Regions from separate parts of the Homo sapiens genome. Here region 1 is linked to region 2. Evidence: promoter capture Hi-C in human tissues and cell types (Jung and others, 2019). All regions are on one chromosome and are shown on one strand. The core of a region is centred on a gene start or on the middle of the fragment in contact, and the rest is flanking DNA. Distances in the headings are between cores, read along the strand shown.

Evidence for each region. The method cuts DNA at HindIII sites, captures the fragments that hold promoters and counts their contacts. A contact is called where the count stands out against the background at its distance.
Region 1: a contact is called between a fragment that was not itself captured here and the fragment with the promoter of PTPRR in region 2, in 1 of the 25 tissues and cell types used here (spleen).

What each region holds. Positions count from the first base shown.
Region 1 is chr12:72,157,487-72,163,586 of GRCh38, reverse strand. It overlaps a transcript of TRHDE not described here. Among named protein-coding and RNA genes, the nearest start is that of TRHDE, 110 kb to the left of the region's middle. The HindIII fragment of the contact is 5,110 bases long and covers 305-5,414 here.
Region 2 is chr12:70,917,969-70,923,347 of GRCh38, reverse strand. It overlaps PTPRR (protein tyrosine phosphatase receptor type R), which reads left to right and starts at 2,610. Exons shown (of 14, transcript NM_002849.4): 1 at 2,610-3,015. The coding sequence starts at 2,958. The HindIII fragment of the contact is 3,890 bases long and covers 269-4,158 here.

The sequences.
Region 1 (6,100 bases), core at 1,610-4,109, 1.2 Mb before region 2:
ATTTAGACCTATCAAAGCCTTGGTCTAGCAACATCAAAATCCATTTCCCACACATAATCTCTAGTTTTCTGCTGTTATAAATATCTTCACAAAAATTATTTAACTCATTTCATTTAAAAACCTTTTCCCCTAAGGCTTGACATTGCAATTGTTGCCTGAGATATGCAGGAATCTGACTGGCTATGGATGTGGTAACAATAAAGTTAGTAAAGATACTGCAAGAAGAGAACCGTCATCCCTTTGAGAGGAACCTGCCTCAGACAAGCTGTTATAGGTATTCAAGGGAGGCAAAATCAACATCATCAGGCAAAGGAGGAGCTGCTTTAGCTGGCAAGAGAGACTTGGTAAGGTTCAAGGGTATGCATATATATTCAAATCCTCCTAAATGAAACCCTTTCAATGATGAGGTCTATCTCATTCTAAGGCAATGTTTTCAATTTTTTGAAAAACAAATGGTAAAACTGTAAATTCAACCTACCTTATAATTCAACAAACTGCAGCATCAGGCTTTCCATCTGATTTCCATCTAAATTAGTCTTGAGGCTACAAAAGATGACAGCTTTTTCGAGAACAGTTGTAGAAATTCCTTGATTCTCAGACAGTTCCTAGAGCTAAGAATTTAAAATATTGAGCCTATCACTTTCTTTTCGTTCACAAACACAATTTGAAAAAAAAAAAAAAAACCCACCCCAAAGTCCTTTTCTTCCTCATGCCCCCTATGATTGTCTATCACAATAGTCATTCTCTCTTCCAAATCCTTGCCTTCAATAGCATTTCAGATAACCAGAAGTGATAATTTAAGTAATTGCTCACTCAGTGCCATAATAGCCTGTACATACAATAAAGTCCTATTTTTTATGTTCTATTGCCTGCAACCACTTCTGCTAATTACTTTATCACTCAGAGCTCCATTGCACACAACAGAATCCACTTTAACTAGTTTAAGCAGAAAGAGTTTTATGTAGGGAATTCAGTGCTTACATAAATTTGAACAGCTGGAGGAACTGGCTCCAGGCTAATCTCCCAGGACCAACTTCTAGCCCTCAGAAACATTCTGCCACTACTGTGAATGAAAAAGCAACCATCGCCAATGCAGGAAGATAATAAATCAGGAGTCTATTTGCACTATTGTTGACTGCAAAACCATACTAATTCTGATGTGACTGAAACACTGCCACCACTGTGACAGGAAGAATCTGGATCAGGAAACCATCTCCACATTAGGAGGTCACCACTTAATATGCTGGCTCCAGAACCATGTCACCTCTGCAGCAACCTGTGCCCCAATATTCTACCTCTGTCTGCTACATTCATTCTTCTAATCAAAGTCTCATGCAATAATATTTCTAAAGAGTCTAGGAATATTGTTTCTGCTTTCCATTCTCAGCATACAAGAAGAGAGCTAGGATGAATGTTAGCCAAAATATCTTGTAGTACGTTTTTCACTGAGTATCAGAAACACTTCAAAAATCACAGTGATAGGCCTAACAAAGCCAGTATGTCTTGCCATACTTTCTCTCTGTCCTATGGATGATGGGAAGACAGGAAAATTTACTAAGTGCCATAGTAAATGATCCACATCCACAAACCATACTATTGGGCAAACTGTATAGACATGCCTACAAAACCCATGGAGCTTTTAAAACAGATTTATTAAGGCATAATATGCAATATACTATCTATATTTAAAGTGTACAATGGGATGAGTGTTCATACCCATGAAAACACATATCAAGATCAAATAAACATATCTGTTAGCCTTAAAAGTTTTCCTGGATTCCTTTGTAATCTGCCATATGGAAGTTCTTTTTCATTTGACATCACACCAAATTAGCCAACTCATTCTTAAATATGAAAATAAACCAATCCTCTCCCTATACTTCTGCCAACAAAGCAGGATATGTTCTCAAATCTAAAAAGCTTATCTTCCAGTACAAAAGTTCCAGTTCACCCACAGATAACCCAGAAAAAAAAGCTCTTATGTTGGAGCATGGCTCTAGTTCTCATCTTACCTACCACAAAAATCAATATGACCAGACACATAATATAAACCACTGGCTCTTAAATGTATATAGCAGCATACTGATGTATAGCTAACATCACAGATATTCTTCCAAATTTGGATCAATGCAGCAATTTTTTTTTTTTTTTTTTTGAGACGGAGTCTCGCTCTGTCGCCAGGCTGGAGTGCAGTGGCGAGATCTCAGTTCACTGCAACTTCCACCTCCCGAGTTCAAGCGATTCTCCTGCCTCAGCCTCCGAAGTAGCTGGGACTACAGGCGAGTGCCACCACGCCCAGCTAACTTTTATATTTTTAGTAGAGACAGGGTTTCACCATGTTGGCCAGGATCGTCTCTATCGCTTGACCTCGTGATCTGCCAGCCTTGGCCTCCCAAAGTGCTGGGATTACAGGTATGAGCCACTGCAGCTGGCTGGCAAAATTTTTTATTTGCTACAACTAATAACACATACTATTAGTGGCAAAGTCTATCAGCAACTAAGAGGAGCAGGTCATACAATACAGGTACAATTTGCAGCCAGTGAGAAAGGAGATAGAGGTGAGAGGAACCAAAAATAATTTTGTATTTACTAAAACAAACCAAAAAATCTCTGGTATTGAATATATGAAAAGGAATTCCAGGACAGTGAAGAGTTCTACTCAAACACCCATATAACACTAAATACTGCCAACAAAACAGTAATAAATTTGAAGTACATTGCCCCAGAATTCTAGTATTTAGAACTGTGGCATGAACATAAATAAAATGGGAACTACGTGGGGTAGAGGGAGCAGGGAAACATATCTAAACCATTGGTTCTCAGACTTCATACTCCTAAGAATCATGAGGAAGTTTTTTCTTTTGTTTTGTTTTGTTTCATTTTGTTTTGTTTGTTTGTTTAGATGGAGTTTCGCTCTGTCACCAGGCTGGAGTGCAGTGGCGCAGTCTCGGCTCACTGTAACCTCCGCCTCCCAGGTTCAAGCGATTTTCCTGCCTCAGCCTCCCAAGTAGCTGGGATTACAGGTGCCCTCCACCAAGCCCAGCTAATTTTTTTGTATTTTTAGTAGAGATGTTGTTTTGCTATGTTTGGCAGGCTAGTGTTGAAAACTGCTGACCTCAGGTGATCCACGCGCCTTGGCCTCCCGAAGTGTTGGGATTTCAGATATGAGCCACCATGCCCGCGAGGAGGTCCTTTTAAAATATAGATTGATGGGTTTTATCCCAGAGATTCTGATTCAAGATACCTGGGATGGGGGCTTAAGAATTTGCACTTCTAGTAAGTGCCAGAAGATGCTTATGCTGCTGTTTTGTGGACCACACTTTGAGAGCCACTGACTGACTGTGAGTTCCAACTTAGTTCCTAGCAGTATTCAAATGGAAATCAGAGAGGCAGGGAGGGCAGCCAAGAAACCTTGGCCAACAATGTGGGTATGTAACATAACCAGAGAGAATTTTTTTGAAATAAATAGCAGAGGAAAAAGAAGAAAGGAACATCAAACCTATGCAAAAATTCTGTCCCCTTAAAGAAGAAAAAATAAAAGCATGGCATGAATGGTAGAAGAAGAGCACAATTAGGAGGAGATAATTTCACAATTAGATTTAGAAAATAACTAACCTCTAAAGCACTTAGAAAGATCAAGAATGCTATAAAATGAGAGATGTAAGATGAGACAATATGACAACAAAATGAGATGAAAAGAGAACTGGGAAAGGAAAGGAAAGAAATTAGAAAAAAGAAACACCATGGGAGAACTTAACATAGTATTTGCAGCAGTGAAAAGCAGAGAAAAGACAGAGAAAACAAAATCCATAATGTAGAGGACAGACTTGAGTAAATCATACAGAAATAAAGACAGGATGAGAAAAAAATTAAATTGAAAAAGATGGATATGAAGTGAAAGCAAGAGAGGTCCAATGTATAGCTAGTTGGCATGCCTGAAGAAAACAAAATAATTGGAAGATATAACATTTTCAAACGTATTTTGCCAAAGTTAGATATCTGATTTGAAAATCCCTACATATAGTCAAAAATAATTATATATCATCTTGAAGAAATGGCAGTTCAAGGTTAACAAATACAAAACTGCTAAGAAGAAGAATCATGTCATCTACATACATATTAGTGAAGTTCTGCCATTGCCTTAGCTTCATCGCTGCCTAGTTGAAAGAATTCATGTGGCTGGGTCATTCCCATCCTTCTGTTGTGAGGTCTAATGTTAAATAAAGTATCAGAAGTCTTTCCTGATCTTCCTCTACAAAGTAGATCATTGAATTACTATTACTGTACTCTAAGTATGTGTTTCTTGACAATTATTGTTGTTTTTGTTTTTATTCAACATATTCTGTGGTTAATTATCAGTAACTTTCTACTACTAAAATTTAAGCTTCACAAAAAGAGAAACCCATATTTGCCTGGTTGACCACTGTGTTCTTAGCATTTGCTAGTGATTGGTACATGTTACATAGTCAATAAATATATTAAATAAATGAATAAATAAAGTTACTGTAATTAAAATCATATTGTAGACTGACAGATCAAACAGAATTAACTAAAGAATCTAGAATCAGACCCAAGCTTATGTAGAAGTTCTGAATATATTAAAATGGCATTTAAGGCAGAAGAGGGGTATTCAGCACTTGGCACATTGATTGGCCATTTGTAAGAATAAATAAATCTCAATCTCTTGTGTGAATGGGTTTTGAGAAATTCAAGGAATGGTGAATAAGTTAGCATGGAATCAAAAAGAAGTAAATAGACTCAGAAAATCAGATGTTCATGAAGTCAGAAAATGCTATAAGATATAAGCCATCAGGAATTTGCAGATATCTTAGGAAAGGCTTCCAACAAAACAGAACAGAGGATTATGCAAATCTTATTTAATTCTGAAAGAAAACCTGACATCTGGGTTACATAAACACCAAAGCAAGAATTGAAACAGAAAAAGATGAATAGTCTTTACTGTATACAAATTTATGACTGTATTTAAAAAGTAATACCAGAAATAAGACTGAATAATAAATGGCAACCCAAATGAAAAGTTACAACATATTTGATAAACAATTATTGTTTCTAATATAAAAATAATACTAATAAATCAATAAAAAGGTGAGAATTACTGAAAGACACAAAGAGGCAATTACACACACATCATAACAAATGAGCCTGCTCTTCTACATATATAAGTATGTATGAAAGATATATATAATATATACACATATGAATGTATGAAACATATATATTATATATATACATATAATTTCACTTTTATTTTAGATTCACGGGGTACAAGTGCTGGTTTAAGAACAAACTTTTCTTGATTCTGTATTCCATTGTATTCCATTCTAGCTTTCATCCCATTCCTCTCATCCCTTTTACAGAAAAAATAAAAAAATTCATTGCCTATATCCTCTTGCAATTTTCTCACTTTTCTTTCCCAAACCCTCTCCGTCAGACTTTCATTGACATCTCCTACCAAAACATTTTTGCATGAACATTGTGAACTTTACATATGAAATCCAGCAGTCAATTCTCAGTCCTCTTCCTATATGACTCCCCAGCACTATTTGACACACTGATCGTGCCCTTTTCCCTCAAATACTCAGTTTAGTTTTTGAGATGCCACACCTTTCTCACCTTTCTCCTACCTCTTGCCTTTTCCCATCTGATCTCCAAATCACAGGCTCCTTTCTCAATGTTCTTCTCTTTTCCCTGCTAAACTAACTCCCTATCTGGTTCATCTATTTCTACAGCTTTTATTACTATCCAAATGTCAGTATCTCCAAATTTCCATCTCCAGACCTGACCCTGAGTTCCAGGCTTGTATATTCAACAGTCAATTCAACATCTTCACAGAAAAATCTAATAGGCATCTGCTGCTTAATACTCAAACGAACTTCTTATTTTCCCCTTCCCATTTTCTTCCATGGTCTTCCCCAACTCTAAAACTAGCACCACCATTCACCAGGTATATAAGGTCAAACTATTGGAATCTTACTTGATTCCTTTCTTTCTAAGACTCCATATCCAATCCATCAGCAAATCCTATTAGCTCTTCCTTTTAAGTATACTTGGAACCTGACAGTGTTTCACCACTTCTGCT
Region 2 (5,379 bases), core at 1,361-3,860:
AATTGGCTAATTCATTCATTGCTGTTTGACTTCACGAACAGCAATGAGTGAATTAGCCAATTAGTGAAAAAGTGAATTGAAGCCGTTACAAGTATGATATTAGATTGACTCACATAGGAATATGACCTTTTTCGTTACTTTATCATTTCTAAGTAAATTAATAATGAATGTCTAGTCACCAAAATTACAGCCCACTCAGGGTTATTTTTACCATGCTGAACTAACTATTCTAATGATATATCCAGCCAAATTGGAAATTGGAAATTTTTGCTGCTAACGGAATTTTCATGCATAGTTTAACAATTCAGCTACCTGCAGCCCTGAACAAAATACATTGCCAGCAGGATGCTTTTTGGCAAAGTCATAGTCAATTATAATAATGGGAATTTTAAATGCCCCACCAATAAATGTTGGAATTATCTGTGGAAAAGGAAGGGGTTCAGAACATTACTGCAGCATTGTTTCATTACCATAAGTAAGTATATTTTATTCTTGGAGATCTATGTAAGTTTGATAATTAGTTATTTTAGGAAACAAGAAAATAAGAAAAATAGACCTATTGTAAGTGGGATACAATTATTTTTCCCTAACCTCCAGCCCTGCAGCATTTCTAGTAACAGATGTTAGATGAGAAGAGTTATTCTTCTAAGCTTTACAGAATGCTAAATAAATTATCTCAAAGGTTGACTCAGTAAGAATTTCAAAGAGTTAATTGTCAGTATTGAACTTTGTCAACTATCATTTTCATTTATTCATTTTTGAGTATCTATTTTGCATGAGGCATTGCTCTAGGGAGTTGGGACATATCAATAAAGTCATCAAAGTTCTTCAACATTGGAGCTCAAATTCTGTTTTGCGGGGGGGAGTAGGGAAATAGATACTAAACAATAGATTTTATAAGTAATTATTTTGGTTTGTTAGAAAGTGATACGGGAAAAGCAAACTGGAGGACAGTGAATCAGGAATAGGAGAAGAGGTTGCAGCTTAGAGTGGTTTGGGATGAAATGATAGTGCCACAGAAATGGAGTGTGCCACACGCATGGGGGAGTAGGGGGTGGAGCACGTTGCTAGAGAGGGGCTAGACATGGAGATATGTCTCTATTTTCAGCAGAGAAGGCCTGTCAAGATATTAAAAGTACATCTCATTGTCCCCTTCTCCCACTTGTTGGAGTGCTTCCTGGCCTTGTCTCTCAGAGCTGAAGATGACATAAATCATAAAAGAAATAAATGGTACCGCCTGGGCTCTCTGATCTTATAAGGTCCCACCTAATTTAAGCTCTGGTGGATAGCCTATTTCCCATTAGTTGTCTCAATTCACAGAGGATGGAGAAAGAAAGCACTGAATGAGATGTGCAGCTCAACTCAATGGGCACTTGTTAGCCCCAATTATTTGGCTAGGACAACTTTATTCAAGTTAATGGAATACAAAACTCAGCAGTTCTTATGGAGACTTCAATGTGCTGTAGAACAAACCACAGATAAATGAACTGTCTGAAAGAATAATATGAGGCACGGCTAAACAAGTGTTGTGGAAGAGAAAGATCACTGTAATCTAGAGTTAGTTAGAGTTAGGGCTTTCTGGAAAAGTGAGACCAACATTACACCTTCGAAAACTAGTGTGGTGGTGGTGCAAGTGGAGGAAAATGGGAAAGAGGCAACAGTGTCCATAAAGACACAGAGGCAGAAAGGGCAGAGGCCCTGGGATAGTTAAAAGAGAAGTCTAGCTGAGGGACTTCTTGACTTGACTAGCAGCAATTAGCCATGACTAATAAGGCTTTCCACACTCCAAAGACTTAGATGGAGGGATAAAAAACCATCTAATGGCAGACTGTGGTAGCCTCCCTAGAGACACAGAGCTGGGCCGGATGAGTCCAGGCACTGACGTGATCCATTATCTTTCACCTTAAAGAGTAAAAGGGAAACTAAAGTTAATTACCTCCACGAAACAAAAAGGTGCCTTCTTGTGCTTCAATTACATGGATATATTCTACTAGTCTAAAAGTATCTTCTCACTTCTTTCTGTCACTGTGAGGACTTGAGTCAGAAGAAAGTTTAAATACAGTCATTGAGCTGGAAAGAGTGGAAAGAGAAGCAAAGAGGGGGAAGCTGTAGGAAGGACGAAGTCACCCCCAAGATACATGGTTACTGCTTACACCAAGCAAGCTGCCTTGGGAACGCTTCCCCCGAGCAGCCAGAATGCTCAGCAGTGGAAGACACCTCTATTCCTGTAGGCGAGTCCTGGGAAGCTGGTCAATCTGCAAATGCCAATTCCCAGCAGTGAGCTCGGTCCACGTGTAAATCAAGATTTGGGGAAAGAGTAGGGTGGGTGGCATGGTTGACAATGTCATCAGCTCCCTCCTCTGACTCCTGTGGTCGTGCCCCCATCTACTCTCACTCAGCTACACCCCACCTTCGGATTTGTGATGGACGCTGGGTCCCTAGTAACCACAGCAAGTGTCTCCCCCGCACTTCCCCCTTCCCCACCCCCACCCCCACCCCCAACCACCACCCCAGCGATGGAGCCTACTCTGCTCCAAGCCGCCGCTAAGACCCGGAGAAGCGGAATTTCACTTTGAAATTCCCTTGCCTCGTGAGGGCCGGCGCTGGGCATGCTCAGTAGCCGCGGCGCTGCTGCTGGGCTGCTGGGCTGGCGCGGAGTCCACCCTGCCGTCTCCGCCTTGGCTTCTGGGCGTCCAGAAGGCCAGGCATTTGCCGCCTCTGAGCGCTTCTGTTCCCCTTACCCGCAACCTCCTACTGCTCTTCCTCTCTCCCTCTCTTAGGGAGGTTGAAGCTGGTGCTGGTTTCTGTCGGCGCCACAGACTGACTGCTCTGCAAACCCCAGCCGAGGACCTGAATCCCGGAGACTAGAAGACCCTTGGCGGTGGCTCTTTCTAATAGCACTTTACCTGAAGTGGGGTCGTGGTGGAGTTTCTCCTCCACCTCTCAATGCAAACACTATGCGGAGAGCAGTCTGCTTCCCTGCGCTGTGCCTGCTCCTTAATCTTCACGCTGCAGGTAAGGGGTTGCCAGGCTTAGAGCCGGAGCTGTGCATGAGATGGGAAACTGCACATGCTTAAGGACTCTAGGAAAAGCTTGCCTTGCGAAGAAAGCCTTTCTAAAAAGGTAAAACAGGACAGTACCTGACAGGGAAGGGGTGAGGGAGTCGTGCACCTGTTGGAAAACTGAGGCCGAAAACTTAACCTAAAATTAGCTCTTGATTTTTCTTTACTTTATACGAAAATAGTGAACATTTTCAATATGAATACAGGTTTGCTCCCCCCTTCGCCTCCCCTCCGTCTAGATTCCCTGCTCTTGTTTCTAGGCTATGCACTTAACTGTCAATTTTTCAGGAGAGGGATAAGACATCCTGCTAGATGTAACCTTTTCTACTGCAGCGGCTACTACATTCATAAGGTCTCTTGGTCTAGCGAGCGCTCATAGGAAGGCATTGGCTGTAACCTGATGGACCACATCTCCGCCCAAAAGATCGAAATACATGGTTCACATTAGTGATGCTGCACCAGGCTCCTTTGGCCCCTGCTCTTGTCACTCGAATTTTCTAAGCCAATAAGAGGAAGAAAAGGTTTCAAATAGAATCCTCTTGTCTCTTTCAGCACCGTGGCTAGCGTCCGCTGGCATATTAAAAAAAAAAAAAAAAAAAAAAAAAAAAAAAACAATTACAGTTCCAAAGCTGACAACCCTGGGTTAGGCACTGTCCCTCGGACAGATTTGATAAGGTGTAACCAAGAGTAACAGTGAGACTGCTCCCAAATATAAATAGATTTGAGGCACCAGAATCAATATCAAGTCTCGTGAGGAAGCAAACCTTGGGAAGTACCTGAGAGATATTATATGTGGTGTCCCTGCTTTTTGCATACATAGCACCTCTATTTAATGCAGACAGACTTGCTAGGCTGAATTCCTTATCATTGTCACACACACATGAACCAAAATAAAATATGGCAGGGAGATTTTAGAAACCCTACTGTGACAGCAGTTGTCCATGCAGTAGTCCTGTAACAACCAGAGACGAGGCATTTTCCCTGAGTGTGCTTCTCATCCAATCACACATATCCATTCATTCCTTCAAGCAACATTTGCTGAGTGTATACTATGTTCTAGGGGTAATGAGTAAAAATAATTGTTCTGAAATTACAATCCTTGCAGTATCTTTTTTAAAAGAGTGGGTGAATTTTATTCTCTGTGTACAATAGTAGGAGTGAAATATGGTACTTTCTTATTCCAGCTAACGCTATTATTTAAATGTATCATGAATCTTTTGAGCAAATAATGCATAGGATTATTAAAGCTATTATTAAATACACATGTTAATTGTTATAATTATGATGTTATATTGTGGAGTTTTCAATAGTTCTTTGGCACATTTTGAGAAGTAGAAAATAGCTATGACTTGATTATTAAATTATTTGCAAACAGCTGTAGTGAATTATTTCGTTACCACATACAATTCTTCAATGCTGAAATGTGGGATGAAAACATACACATTGGGTTGAGTTTTATTTATAGTATTGCTTAATAATAGACTGACACAAACATTCATTACAGAAAAATCTCAATTCTTACTAAGGTAGCAATGATTTAGCTGGTCTGCCAACAATATCAGTGTAGTCATTTTTTCAAAACTAACATATAAAAAAGTTTAAAGATCACATTTGATACATCTTGAGTAATTATATCTTAAAAGTTATAAATAAACTGAAGCATGTGAAAAACATGTCTTGATTTACTGTAGATGAATATTCGGGATGAGAAAAATGAGGACTTTTGCTCATCAGATGAGAAACCTAGAAGCCTGTAGCCCTAGATTTTACCTGGAGTTCTGCCAAAGGGTATATTACCAAAGCCAATCCAATCCATCTCTACTTCAACTTTTTAATTTGCAAAACAAAGATAAAAAGTAAGATTAATCAACCAATTTTAATTTAATAAGAAAATGCATTTAAGGACATTTTTATATTTCAATTGCAAGATACTATTCATTGTATTCATATTTAATATAGTAAAATACATTGGTGTTTTATCACAGCAGATTGTAAGTTTAATATTATAGTTCTCTTGCCAATTTCATTTTAAATGCATTTTAATTTTAAACAGCAATTTGTGGGTCACAAGCTGTCATCAGATTAAAATTTATCACAGTTATCTAATAACATTGTTAGGGCTTTTCATCAGAACTAAAACAAACACAGCTCCTTGGTCTAAGCTTCTATACATTTGGAGATTAAGAAAATAAGTGGATGGGATGACAAAGATCAAGAAATCAAGATATTAATCTCTACTTGTTGAAGGTGTGAGTTTGTTACTTTTATGGAAGACTTTTCTCTCAGAACAGAGGCTGACTTCATAAAGAAGGGAAAT